Regions from separate parts of the Homo sapiens genome. Here region 2 is linked to region 1. The links are contacts of gene promoters, found by promoter capture Hi-C in blood cells and fetal thymus (Javierre and others, 2016). All regions are on one chromosome and are shown on one strand. The core of a region is centred on a gene start or on the middle of the fragment in contact, and the rest is flanking DNA. Distances in the headings are between cores, read along the strand shown. Region 1 has its middle 88 kb from the start of FLJ32255. Region 2 holds the start of OXCT1-AS1 (OXCT1 antisense RNA 1).

What was found. The method cuts DNA at HindIII sites, captures the fragments that hold promoters and counts their contacts. A CHiCAGO score of 5 or more calls a contact.
Region 2: the fragment with the promoter of OXCT1-AS1 here is called in contact with a fragment that was not itself captured in region 1 in 9 of 17 cell types (M2 macrophages, total CD8 T cells, M0 macrophages and 6 more); the score reaches 8.3 in M2 macrophages.

The regions. Positions count from the first base shown.
Region 1 is chr5:42,902,216-42,908,537 of GRCh38, reverse strand. It overlaps the pseudogene PRELID3BP5. Among named protein-coding and RNA genes, the nearest start is that of FLJ32255, 88 kb to the left of the region's middle. RefSeq lists an enhancer at 1-9. The HindIII fragment of the contact is 1,271 bases long and covers 634-1,904 here.
Region 2 is chr5:41,866,401-41,873,009 of GRCh38, reverse strand. It overlaps OXCT1-AS1 (OXCT1 antisense RNA 1), which reads right to left and starts at 2,980. Exons shown (of 3, transcript NR_046635.1): 1 at 2,818-2,980; 2 at 2,628-2,719; 3 at 769-2,244. OXCT1 (3-oxoacid CoA-transferase 1) reads left to right here and starts at 2,585. Exons shown (of 17, transcript NM_000436.4): 1 at 2,585-2,729. The coding sequence starts at 2,652. It overlaps LOC102723752 (a long non-coding RNA gene), which reads right to left. Exons shown (of 3, transcript XR_925956.4): 1 at 3,408-6,609. RefSeq lists enhancers at 1,989-2,038, 2,869-2,948. The HindIII fragment of the contact is 3,584 bases long and covers 2,233-5,816 here.

The DNA of each region.
Region 1 (6,322 bases), core at 20-2,519:
ATCCCTCTGGAAAGTTGCAAGGCCACAGACTTCTCTGCACAGAGTGGGAACTGCAAGTCCCTTACTGTTGCAGCAAGAGCCAAAACATAGTCTTCAGGACCCAGAAAAAAAACTATTTTGACTCAAGAAACCACAATCATTGTGAAAAGAATCAGCCTCAGCAGTTACCTTGAAGAACTGAAGACAAGTACAATATCTTCAAATGCTAATAAAGGCTGAGAAGCACTGGAATGGGTAATACTTAAACTACATGTTAAGATTGAGAAATTGCTGGCTTCAAAAAGAGGAAGCATAAGAACTCGGATAGTAGCAGCATCATTTACAGAGAAATGATAATGGATGTTGGAAGACATCAAGTACCCCAGGTGTCTCCAACCTTGCAATCTGTTATTTTAAAACCGTATCTTAGGTAGAATTTTTAAAAAATAGACTGATAGAAGACTTTGTGACATGGAATAAAAACAAAGAGGTTCAGGGTGTCTAAATAAAAGGGATCATCTAAAATAAGTGTTGTTTGAAATGATTGTCTAATTTTGAGAGTTCCAGTATTTATGTGAAAATTTAAAAATTTTTCAAAAAGTACTTGGCAGTTTGCATTGACATTGAATCATTTTGAGGTAGAATTTTAAAGCTTTTAACACCTGGGAACACTACCTGACTTTGGTGGAACTTCAGAACAAAGCAGAGCCACCTCTTATATACACACAATTGCCCTGCTGCCATAAACTTCAACAGCTTGCATAAGGAACTTCACTTTAAAAGGAGAAATTGCTCAGTTTTAAATGATATTAATGTGTATAAAATAACTTGCTCTGCTATAAACCACCATTAAAAACCAGTGTTTTGGTTTAGTACTTGAATATTTTTGGAGTAAAAATTATCCCTAAAGTAGTATATGACTCCCAGAAACATATGCTTTTATTATAATAAAAAGTAATATATTGATTTGTCAAAGTTTTATAACATAGTAAAGGTATTACCTTCCTTGGATTTGTACTTTATGCTTTAATATGCTGTACCATGAGCTGGCTACATTAATTGGAAAAATAAATTCATTACTTGAAAAACAAAAGAGAAAATGAAGAGTGGGGATAGACTAACGGGGACTGAAAGAAGATCCCTAGCCTTGTGCCTTCTGAGTTAACAACCACAGGGTTCCAGAGCATCAACTCCAGATCAGACAATTCCAGGCAGCTACAGATGTCTGCCTTGGTGAGTCTTGCCCAGGATCTGGAAGTCCAAGATGAAAGCGCCAGTGATTCAGCTCCTGGTGAGGGCTGTCTTCCTGTCATGCCAATGGCCATGTTGTAGCTGTGTTCTCACATGGCACAGAAGGAGAGAGAGAAGTGGGTAGAGGGGCAAGAGAAGAAAGGGAGAGAAGGAGAGGGACCTGGTATCTCTTCCTCTTCTCATAAGGGCACTAATCCCATTATGAAACCCCAACCCTCATGACCTCATCTAAACTTAATTGTCTCCCAAAGGCCCCATCTCCAAATACCATCACTTGGAGATTAGTTAATCAAAATTATCATGAATTTTGGGGGAACACAATTCAGTGCAGAACACCAAGTGTATGGGAGGCTCTCATAATCTCTGCCCATCTCAGGTCCTGCAGCAACTAAGACTCATTCCTTCTTGTGGGCATCCCAGGAGAAAGATTTATGTGTCTTCACAACTTTAGTGTAAAGATTTGGTGTAAAGGTTTCCAGCCTTTACACCAAAATCCTTGGGCAGAGATGAAAAACATGCAGTAGAGAATACACTTGGGACTTTTACACTTTTCTGTCCCCTCAAATGTTAGAAATCAAAACCCATAAACTAGATGACAGCATTAATCTAGTCTAGCTGTGATTACATCAATCTTTTCACATAGTGGCAGTTCTAAGTATCAGTATAGAGAAGCTTAGATGTTGCATCTTATTGGAACGTGGAACTAGAGCTGTGTTTGCTTTGCACTCATTATTAGACTAATTACATGTCAATTATCCATGTCATAAAAAATAAGCAGATGGTGAAAGATGAGTTAGAGTGTTTTTGTGGTTTGGATATGGAGGGGGCTTCCCATCTTATCATCCTCATTTTCTGTTCTGAAGTCTCAAAATCTACTTAAAAAAAAATAAAACCACAATCCCAATCCTCTGATAACCCATTATTCCATTAACCAATTAACCGTTAATCCATAAATGGATTAAGACATCAAACGGGCAGAGCCCTCAAGACCCAATCACTGCTTAAAGGCCCTACCTCTCAATATTGCTACATTGGGGATTAAGTTTCAACATGAGTTTCAGAAGGGACAAATATTCAAACCACAACATCCCTGAATGGCAATTAATTGTAAAGAGAAATTAATTGTTATCTTAGATGACATGATCGTGATTTCAATTTGAAACCTTTTGAAGGTCTAGGGGATAAAGGGACTATGAATGCAGCCCTGGCTTTGGCTCCCTCAGGGTGGCCTCTGTGTGCAACACCCAGGTTAGATTATCTGCTAAGATTTCCTCTGGGCTGGCCAATCTGAAAGCAATATGGAATTGTGTAATCCAAGGGCTCCTGAACACAAGGGAAAAGGTGTTTCATCCAGTCTCACAGCAGGAGACATCAGCTTTTGAGTTTTTACACTTTTCTGGCCAAGTGCCTGGTCCTAATCAGATCATAGGAAGCATAGTGGTGATATTAATTCTAGAAGCAAATTGTAACAGAAGATGGAATTACTGGTATTAACATAAAACCCTAACATCTTAGACGAAACTCAATCTGTGATAGGGTGGTTTAAGTGATAAAAAGAAAAGGTACTCCTTAACCTGTGGAGGGAAAGCTCTTTTGAGGAACCCTGGTTAATAGTTTATTATTGCCCCAAACCACATTGCTAGTCCTGGAGCAGAGACTGCAATCTTGTTCTCCAGGCAGAGAAAAGCTTGAGGAGAGGTGTGTCCTCAAAGACAACTTGGGATGTTAGTGAGAAGCAGGGCAGTGGTAGTCACTCAATTCTTTCATTTCCTTCTTGTCTTTTATTTTCTATTTATTTTTATTGTGGTAAAATACATATAACAAAATTTACCATCTACCATGAATTCTGAGTCTATCTAGAAGTAAAGTTCCTTAGCATATTCTTGATTACACAAAGATAGTTTTTATAATTTGGAAATCTTTGAGGTACTTTGGAGAAGAAGAACTAAATAAGGAATGATCTCCATCATAGACTTCTTGCTCCTAGTACTTTGGAGAGGAAGAACTAAACAAGGAATGATCTCCAACATAGAAACTTCTTGCTCCTGTTGCCTCTATCTAGAAGGCAGAGTCCCAAGCAAGTTTACAATAACATCATGAGGGTCCCCACTGGGGTGTGAGGAGCTCCTTCCAGGGCATTGGTTGAAGGCAGTGGTGCTGTTGATGCAAGGATACCCCCAGAATTGGCATTCAGCCAGGGAAGCCAAGTGGATACTTTGCTTGTACCAGAAAGAATTCAAGAGCAAGCCAAAAGAGTAATGTGAAAGCAAGTGTATTAAGGAAACAAAAAGAAGGCTACCCCCGTAGTCAGGGTAGCACCAAGGGACAGGGCAGCTAGCTGGCTATTTTATGGCTATTTCTTGATTATATGCTAAATGAGGGGTCGACTATTTCTTTAGTTATCTGGGAAAGAGGCAGGAGCTTGTGGACCGGGGGTTTATCTACCTTACAGAAGATACAGAGTAACTCTTGGGGATTGCCATGGCACTTATAAACAGTCATTGCTCTGGTGGTAGTCTTTTAGCATGCCAATGCATAATAATTAGCATATAACGAGCAATGAAGGTAACCAGAGGTAGCTTTTATGCCATTTTCCTTCTAGCTGGTTTGGGCTTTTTTAAAACAATTTTTAAATTTTTTTTAAGGAATCTTGTACCGGGTACTGTGACCTGTGTCTTGGGGACCTAGCATCCTGTTTGTCTTGAGAAACTAGTCCTGCCAAACTCCTATCTCACTGTGAGTAATGAGCAAGAAAAGTTTTTTTTCCCTTTCAGGGTTCTTCAGTATTTCAAGCCTTGATTGTGAGCAGTTTAAGGAGACGTCCTGGGTATGTGTCTGTTCAGCTCTGCAAGCGCTGGCATCTCCTGGCTGGTTTGGGACCCACTGAACCCTGCTATTGGCAGAATCCATCTTTTTTTTTTTTTCCGAGAGGGAGTTTCGCTCTTGTTGCCAGGTTGGAGGCCAATGGCGCGATCTCGGCTCACTGCAACCTCCGCCTCCCAGGTTCAAGTGAGTCTCCTGCCTTAGCCTCTCAAGTAGCTTGGATTACAGGCATGCACCACCATGCCTGGCTAATTTTGTATTTTTAGTAGAGACGGGGCTCACCATGTTGACCTGGCTGGTCTCGAACTCCTGACCTCAGGTGACCCATTTGCCTCAGCCTTCCAAAGTGCTGGGATTACAGGCGCGAGCCACCATGCCTGGCCTAATCCATCTTGTCTTAAAGCGACTGGAGCTACTTTGTGGTTTCAGCCACTGACTTCTGGACATGTGGGTTTTGATGGCGATTGGGTCCCTCTTGAGTCTGAGAACAGCTCTGAGCCTGCTGGAAACCCAAAACAGCAGCCCACACACACCTGATTTTACATCCTCACAGAGCAAAGGGCATTGGCAGGAGTGGTGTTCAGCACAGCAAGTGATCTAGTGCCCAGGCACAGGTTTGTTCTTGGTCCTGTCCTGGTGGCATGTGACAAGCACTCTGGACCTGCCTACCTCCAAGACTGTTCTTCCAGGGTTGGTGGACAGAACTCCATGGGTTCAGCCTTGTGATGAGGCCAGCCATGTAGCTGAACTAGGAAAAGAGGTAAATGACTCAGGCTAGTACTGAGTGTGTGTGTGTGTGTGTGTCTGTGGGTGGGTGTTTGAGATGGAGTCCTGCTCTGTCACTCAGGCTGGAGTGCGGTCGCATGATCTTGGCTCACTGCAACCTCTGCCTCTCGGGTTCAAGCGATTCTTCTGCCTCAGCCTCCCGAGTAGCTGAGACTCCAGGTGCGTGCCACCACCCCCGGCTAATTTTTGTATTTTTAGTAGAGATAGGGTTTCACCATGTTGGTCAGGCTGGTCTTGAACTCCTGACCTCGTCATCTGCCAGCCTTGGCCTCCCAAAGTGCTAGGATTACAGGCATGAGCCACCACGCCGGCCTGAGTGTGTTTTTATAATATGCTTTTTCTTGTATATAGGCCAGAAACCAGCTATTCAAATAAGCAGGAGATTAACACTAATTTGCCTTGCAAATCAGTTCAGAGTAGGATTAAGGTGAAAATTGTATCATTCTGGAAGATACTCTGAAAACGCTGCTGGGTTGCTATGATTGAATCAGCCAAGGAAAGAGAGCAATGGAGATGTTCCACTGCTGGCATGATCCAGTTACTCACTGTCCATTCACTATAGAAAGTGTATCCTTATTTCAGGGCACCCTAGACAATTACACCTACTATGTCTCATTCTTCTTGCATATTTTAGAGGCATTGACTGGTTGTAGATAGGAGACACAATGAGGTTAGATCATAGTCCAAGATCAGAAAGCTAATTCTGCTAGAATCTGGATTCAGAATCCAGGTCCTGCAGCATGTCAATCACATTGAGTAATGAATAAAATATTAGTCTAGGCTAGGTTGTGAAAAGAAGCATCTCATCTGTCTCTACTAAAAATACAAAAAAAAAAAAAAAAAAAAAAAAAAAAGCCGGGCGTGGTGGTGGCCGCCTGTAGTCCCAGCTACACAGGAGGCTGAGGCAGGAGAATGGCGAGAACCTGGGAGGCGGAGCTTGCAGTGAGCCGAGATCACGCCACAGCCCGGGCGACAGAGCAAGACTCTGCCTCAAAAAAAAAAAAAAAAAAAAAAAAAAAATGGAGCATCCCAGGACTTTTGTAAAGCCATACATTTTCTTCTTTCTTTCTTCCTTCCTTCTTTTTCTTTTCTTTTTTTTGTGTTTCACTTTTGTTGTCCAGGCTGGAGTTCAATGGCGCGATCTTGGCTCACCGCAACCTCCGCCTCGCAGGTTCAAGCGATTCTCCTGCTTCAGCCTCCCGAGTAGCTGGGATTACAGGCATGTGCCACCACGCCCAGCTAATTTTGTATTTTTAGTAGAGATGGTATCCATGTTGGCCAGGCTGGTCTAAAACTCCCGACCTCAGGTGATCCGCCCACCTTGGCCTCCCAAAATGTTGAGATTACATGCGTGAGCCACTGCGCCCGGCAGCCATATATTTTCTATTTGTGTCTACACTCATCTAACTATATGAAAGGGAGACCTCAAGGGTGCTATGATTTTTATACCTAAGGGTATAATAAGCTGAATTGACTTAACATT
Region 2 (6,609 bases), core at 1,731-4,230, 1.0 Mb after region 1:
TGAGACAGAGTCTTGCTCTGGCATGCAGAGGAGCAATCTCGGCTCACTGCAACCTCTGCCTCCCAGGCTCAAGCAATCCTCCTTACTCAGTCCCCACTGCCCACCCCACCCCAGTAGCTGGCTACAGGTGTGCTCCACCACACCAGCTAATTTTTTTGTTTGTCTGTTTTTGTAGAGACGGGGTTTCACCATGTTGCCTAGGCTGGTCTCGAACTCCTGGGCTCAAGCGATCCACTTGCCTTGGCCACCCAAAGTGCTGGGATTGCAGGCGTGGGCCACTGCACATGGCTAAACATTTCTAAACATAAAAAAGCTACAGTAAAATATGTTATTATAATCTTATGGGACCACCATCATATATGCTGTCCATTATTGACCAAAATGTTATGTAGCACATGACTTGGTGTATGTACACCCACACCCACACATACACATACGTATCATAACATAATACAAAAAAACAAAAAAAAATACAAAAAAACAAACAAAAAAATCTTTCCTCATTGCATGACTGGAATCAGACCTTTTGTTTAAAGGCTTTGAATCCAATTCTCCCAGTTTTTAAAAGTGTGGAAGTTAAACTGTAAGATTCCACAAAGAAAGGTTTCCAGAATATAACATATTTGCCAGAAACTGCCTTTCAAAGCAAGTGGGAAATATCCTTACTAGTTCGGAAAAGTTCAGATATTTAAAAGAAGTAAAATTTTGCACACCAATTAAAATTGAAGTGCCTTTGTGTAACTAGAAGTGAAATCAGCACATAAGAACTTTTTTTGTAATTTGTAATCTAATTTATTCAAGTTGAAGAGACTTGCACATTATTTAAAAAGTATAAAATGAAGTCACAGTCATCAAAAATACAGTACAGTGTGTTTTGACCATACAGTAATTAGGGTGATTTTCTCAGGAGACTTAGTCACATAGCATGCAACATTTAAAATGTGTCTTCCTCAGCCAAGAGCAACAAAGTGAGACCAGCCAAGAGTCAGTCATATGACCACCGGCAAAGTTGCCAATGCAGTTTTTCCATTTCATGTGCCCTGTGGAAGGGCAAAAGTGGAAAAGCAGACCCAATCGCAATGGGCAAAAGTGGAAAAGCAGACTCAATTGGAATGCTAGTTTTTTTCACATTGTGTAAGTTAAAGGTACAACAGCTGCTATATGCTAAATTATCACTAGTTATGGGACTTTAGTTACAGTACTTGAATTTCCCCCCAATCCAACTTCTTAAAATGTGTTGAAATACCAACTAGCAATAAGTTAATTTCTCCAGTGTAATTGAATAGTCTAACTTGGTATCTTACTCCTTAACTGATTTTGACTAAAATTATAATATTTACAGGAAAAAAAAAAGTTCAGAGTTAAAAGAATACCATGAAAGGGCAAATGATTTTATGGACAAACTTTGAACTGCATCTTCACTGTTCATTACCTTACTGTATTTGCTAAGGAAGCTAAGATCTCATTTAATTTTTGTGTGCTTTGCTTTGGTTCAAAACTAACATCACATTCTCAGAACTTGGTCAGGCCTTAATCAAATAAAATGCTATTGAGCTTCCACTTGGTCTTTCCACTCTGCTAAGTGCAAAGACAGTTCTGGAGAAATCAGTCGTGGCTCATGTCCTCAAGGAGTTGGTCAAAAGACAAGGCTTGGCGAATATGTACGTGCCATGTCAATGAACTGCTACAATGGAATAAACTTATAATAATGCCTAACATTTATTGACTCCTCATAATAAGGCCATAAACTTTGCATGAATTAACTCATAGAAACGTTATGACGTTGTATCACAAGCAATCCTAATTTGCAGATGAGGACACTGAGGCTTAGGGAAGTTATCTAACTTGCCTAAGGTTAAAGCAATATACTGCTTTTATGGTTGCATCTTTAGTAATCTCTGGGGTTGCTGGGACTCCAGTGCGAGAAAGAGCCCGAAATTCGCAAACTTGGATGATGGGGAAGAAAAGGTGTGCTAAACTCAGGTCACAGAGGTCCAGTCTTAATCTTGTTCCTCTGCAAGCCTTGTTGCTCACACCTCTTGACCGACAGTTCGAGGCAAGTGCTCACAGCAAACTTACTCTATGTAAGCCAAGGCCAGATGTGGGGAGAAGGGGCTGAGAAATGTTAGAAACGTGAACGCAGTCCAGGCGGGAGAAGAGAAGGGGGCCTCGAGGGGTGCCCCTATGCAGCCCACACACACGCCAGGCACTAACTTGGAAAAGCAACAAGCTTGGCGGGAGATCCTCCCGCGGCCGGAGGGCCCTGAACCCTAGGCCAAGACTCATCCACAACCTAGGGGGAGGCGGCCACCAGCGCCCCATCGAAGCTAAAGGGCTGACAGAAGGGCTGTAGCGGCAAGTGTGCGCCAACACAGCTGCACACGCCCAGACACCTGAGGCGCTGAGAGGAACTTCCCCGCGATCCGCCCCGGCTGCACAGAGCCTCTTCTCCCCGCCGGGGCCCCGCCCAGCCTCACTTCTTTTAAAAGCAGCAGCCAGCAGCGCGCCGGTGGCGTGCGGCTCGAAAGGCCGGGAGGACGTCATCGACGCGCTGTCGAGCCTCCAGCCCGCCCGGGTTTCCTTCGCAGTCGCGCACCGACGCTCAAACGCGCGCTCCAACCCGCAGCCTCCTCCTGCCTCACCGCCCGAAGATGGCGGCTCTCAAACTCCTCTCCTCCGGGCTTCGGCTCTGCGCCTCTGCCCGCGGATCTGGGGCAACCTGGTACAAGGTAAAGTGCGGGGGAAGAGGAAGGCCATGGGCAGGAAGAACGTGGACCAAACCCTGAGTGGTGCCCGCGTTTTCTTCTCTGCCCCTACCCGCTCTCTCCAGCCTGGGATCTGGCATCCGTGGCGCGGTGCCCTGGTCACGGACACGCGGCGACGCGTTCCTGGCCTCGCCGGCCCCTCGGATGACCGCCTTTGCTTGGTTCTGCAGTCGCTTCCCTGATGGAGCGAGACGCGATAAAGAAGCGCGCGGAGAGGCTGAGAAGGGGCGGGAGGACTCCTGGCAGCGCTCCCGAGCCCTTTGGCGCTCGTCGGCTTCCCTCCTGGCACCCGCCCTTGGATAGGGACTCTGAGGGTCTGAACGGGGGGAGGAGGGCGCCAGTATATGGAGGTTTAGGAGTGAGGCAACAGCGGGTAGGTTTGCGCCCCCGATGTTGGATCTCTGGGCAGAGGAACCTCTAGAGGCCCAGAACCTGAGGCTGGGTTAGCCATGGCTCTGCTCGAGTTCACCGGGGCTGGATGCCGGGTGCGGCGGGTGTGGAATGCCGCTCCCATCCTCTCCTCCCTATTTGGCTCTGCTGCCCCGTAGACTGGAGCGCTCGCCAGGGCGTCTTGCCGGCCAAGCTGGGAAACCATCCGAGGTGTGTCCCTGGCCCGCGCCTGGGCTGCAGGGGAGGACAAACCTTTCTCTCGAGGCCCCTCGTATCCGGGTTAGGGGCTTTCGGTTTTCAGAGCCCTTTGAAATCCTTTTTGTGCCCCACTGCCGACTCTCCACCGAGTGGTATCCGGAGGCATTCCCACCGTGGACTGACTTGTGGTTTTGCCTTATGCACTGTCCTCGCTTGTAAGCCCACCCCTGTCTGGAGCCCTAGGAGCGAATTACAGGACCAGAGCGCCAGGTCCAGGAGGGTGGCTTTATCCCCGCCGTCTCAATCGCGGGAGCCTCTTCCTTGGTATTCAGTAATAGGTCTGAGCTTGACAGCGTGCCATGCACACGGTGCTTACTCCTGAAGCGTGCCTGCCTGGCCCCATTGCTCTTTCCTGCATCCAATCCCTGACCGCTGAGAACACAGAGGAGCCACTGAGCTCCTTCGGTAGGTGCTAGGGAATGGTTCAGAACTGGACCATTTTACTCTTAAATGCCTCTTAGGAAGCATTTTTATAACTGCAGATAGACTTGGATATATAAAGCATTATTAAAAGGGAACTTGACCTTCAGTGAGATTGCAGCGGTGCTGAAGCTAATACAAACCAGAGCACAGCGATACCCTTGGGCCGAGGTCAGGAACGTTCCTTCTTTTGACAGTTACTGATTTGCCCAACTGTAATTTACTCACTTCAAGTCTTTTCCATCTTGAGTATATCATTAAACCATTTCCGAAGCTCAGCAAACCTCATCTTAGAGGGACGAGATGCAAATAAGGGGTTCTGCTATATCTCATTAAAAGTTCATACAGAGTTCAAACTTAGCCCTGTCAGGCTTGATTATCATAGGTCTAACTCCTGCCTTCCACTATTCCCCTAGCTTGTGGCTCTTAGTGCCCTTATTGTTTTTTTTTTTTTGAGACGGAGTCTCGCTCTGTCGCCCAGGCTGGAGTGCAGTGGCGGGATCTCGGCTCACTGCAAGCTCCGCCTCCCGGGTTCACGCCATTCTCCTGCCTCAGCCTCCCAAGTAGCTGGGACTACAGGCGCCCGCCACTACGCCCGGCTAATTTTTTGTATTTTTAGTAGAGACGGGGTTTCACCGTTTTAGCTGGGATGGTCTCGATCTCCTGACCTCGTGATCCGCCCGCCTCGGCCTCCCAAAGTGCTGGGATTACAGCCCTTATTGTTTAGCACTTTAAATCCTCACCTGCTGCTTCTGTTGAACTGTACCACTTATCTACTTGTTTAACTTTTCAGATGTGTATATTGTCTCCTCAACCAGATGACAGTTCCCCGATGGCAGAGACCATATTTATGCCTTACACTTAGTCTCCCTCAACAAACACACTACTCTGCATAGATCAGATATTCTACACATGTTTAAAGTACGGATGAGAGAACCCTCCAGGCAAACAGAAACCTTGAGTTTTTCCACTAAACATAACTAACAGCTAAAACGAGATAGTTATTTTCTTAAATGTTTAACATTTTTATAATGGGCAGGCCCAGTGTCTCGCAGACCTGAGAGTGCATCAGCATTACCTGGAGGTTTTCTAAAACAGATTGCTGTACCCACCCCCAGAATTTCTAATTTAATAGGTCCTGGGTGGGGCCCTAAACTTTGCATTGATAAGTTCCAGGTGATGTTGATGCTGCTGGTCTGGGGACTGACTGCCCCTTTCAGAGTTATCTGGCATGGACTTAGGTGAAAATAGACTATTGGGAGGTATCTTCTTTTCTTCATTATTACTGAGGGGCAGTGGGGAGCATTTAATACTATTTTCACTATAGAAAATTATTAGTGGGAAAAAGGTTATAAGAGTACCACTAACACTTTACCCACCATTCATCCTTGACCCTGTCTTTTCCCAAATCTCTTTCCAACCTCTGACTCTCCTGAGCTGCAGTCCTTCTGGTGCAACTGGTGAACTTCACTTGGATGTCAGTTGGTGCTTAAAGCTCTTTCTGATCCAAAGCAAACTAGCCATAAAGTGGCTTTCCCATTCCTTGTTTTGTTCTTCTATCACTGTGCTTAACAGCACCAGTATCCATCCAGTATATAAGCTGGAAATCCTGGAACCATCTTCTCTTCTCCTTGCTGCACTTCCAATTGATCACCAAGTGTCATATGTGTGCCTCTTTCTGAAATGTTCCTCAGTGCTGTCCCTGGCATTCTTTCTCAGCAACTGTTTCTTCCTTATAGCTCCCCAATTAAATACTATGATTGTGTTTAAAATTTTGTAATTATTTAATGACTACTATCTTTGCTAGTTTGTAAGTTTCATTATAGCAGGGGCTATGTCTGGGTTTTATTTTCAATATTTTAACTTTGTAGCCCCAGTATTTTGTATAGTTGGTACAAATGAGTGAAGGAAAGAAATAATGAGTTTCCATACCACTTTCTTAATTCAGGCTTCCTTTGAGTTGTGACATCTGTTTCAAAAGCTTTGCTGTCCCTTCGTCATGGAATGATCAAGTCACAAATCAACACTAAAGAACTTACTCATGTAACCAAATACTACTTGTTCCCCAAAAACCTATGGAAATAAAAAAATTAAAAAGAAAAGAAAAAAGAAACTCTGCAGTGTGGTCTGTAAGGCTTTTTACAAACTGCCTCAGTCTGCTTCTCCAGCCTCATCTTCATGAACCTCTCTCCATGAGACCTGATCCCGCATGTCTGTAACCACACAGCCTTTTCATATCGCTGAACTCTTACTCATGTGGCTCCCTTGTTTGGAATCACTGTCCTGACAAGTATTTAACACCTGGCAAACTTTGGTTTTCTAGTCCACCAGGTAGAATGAATTACTCCTTCATCTGTGCTCCTTCGGAGCACTGAGTATCCCTCCAGCATTGGAGAAGAACATGTATGTTCCCTCAATAACAATGCACACCACTGCTGTAGAGAATTGCCTAGTGTTGTAACTCTCTGTGAGCTCCTTGAGATTTATTCTTGTCACATGTGCATAATTGGCAGTGTTTAGTTCAAGGTGAAAATTCTACCTTTGGTAGACACCGGTCCTCTTCTGGACAGCTAAAGTATTTTCACACACATCACTACCTCTTGGGAGTGATGCCGTGCTCTGCAGGTCTGTGAGTGTATCCACTCACATATTACTGCCTTTTCTTTATAACGTGTATCTCTTTACTTCTCTCCATATAACTTCTCCCCACTTTTGTTTCTCAAACTGTGATACTTGGACAATATCAGCTGTTCCTTGTCATTTATTTAACTGTAAG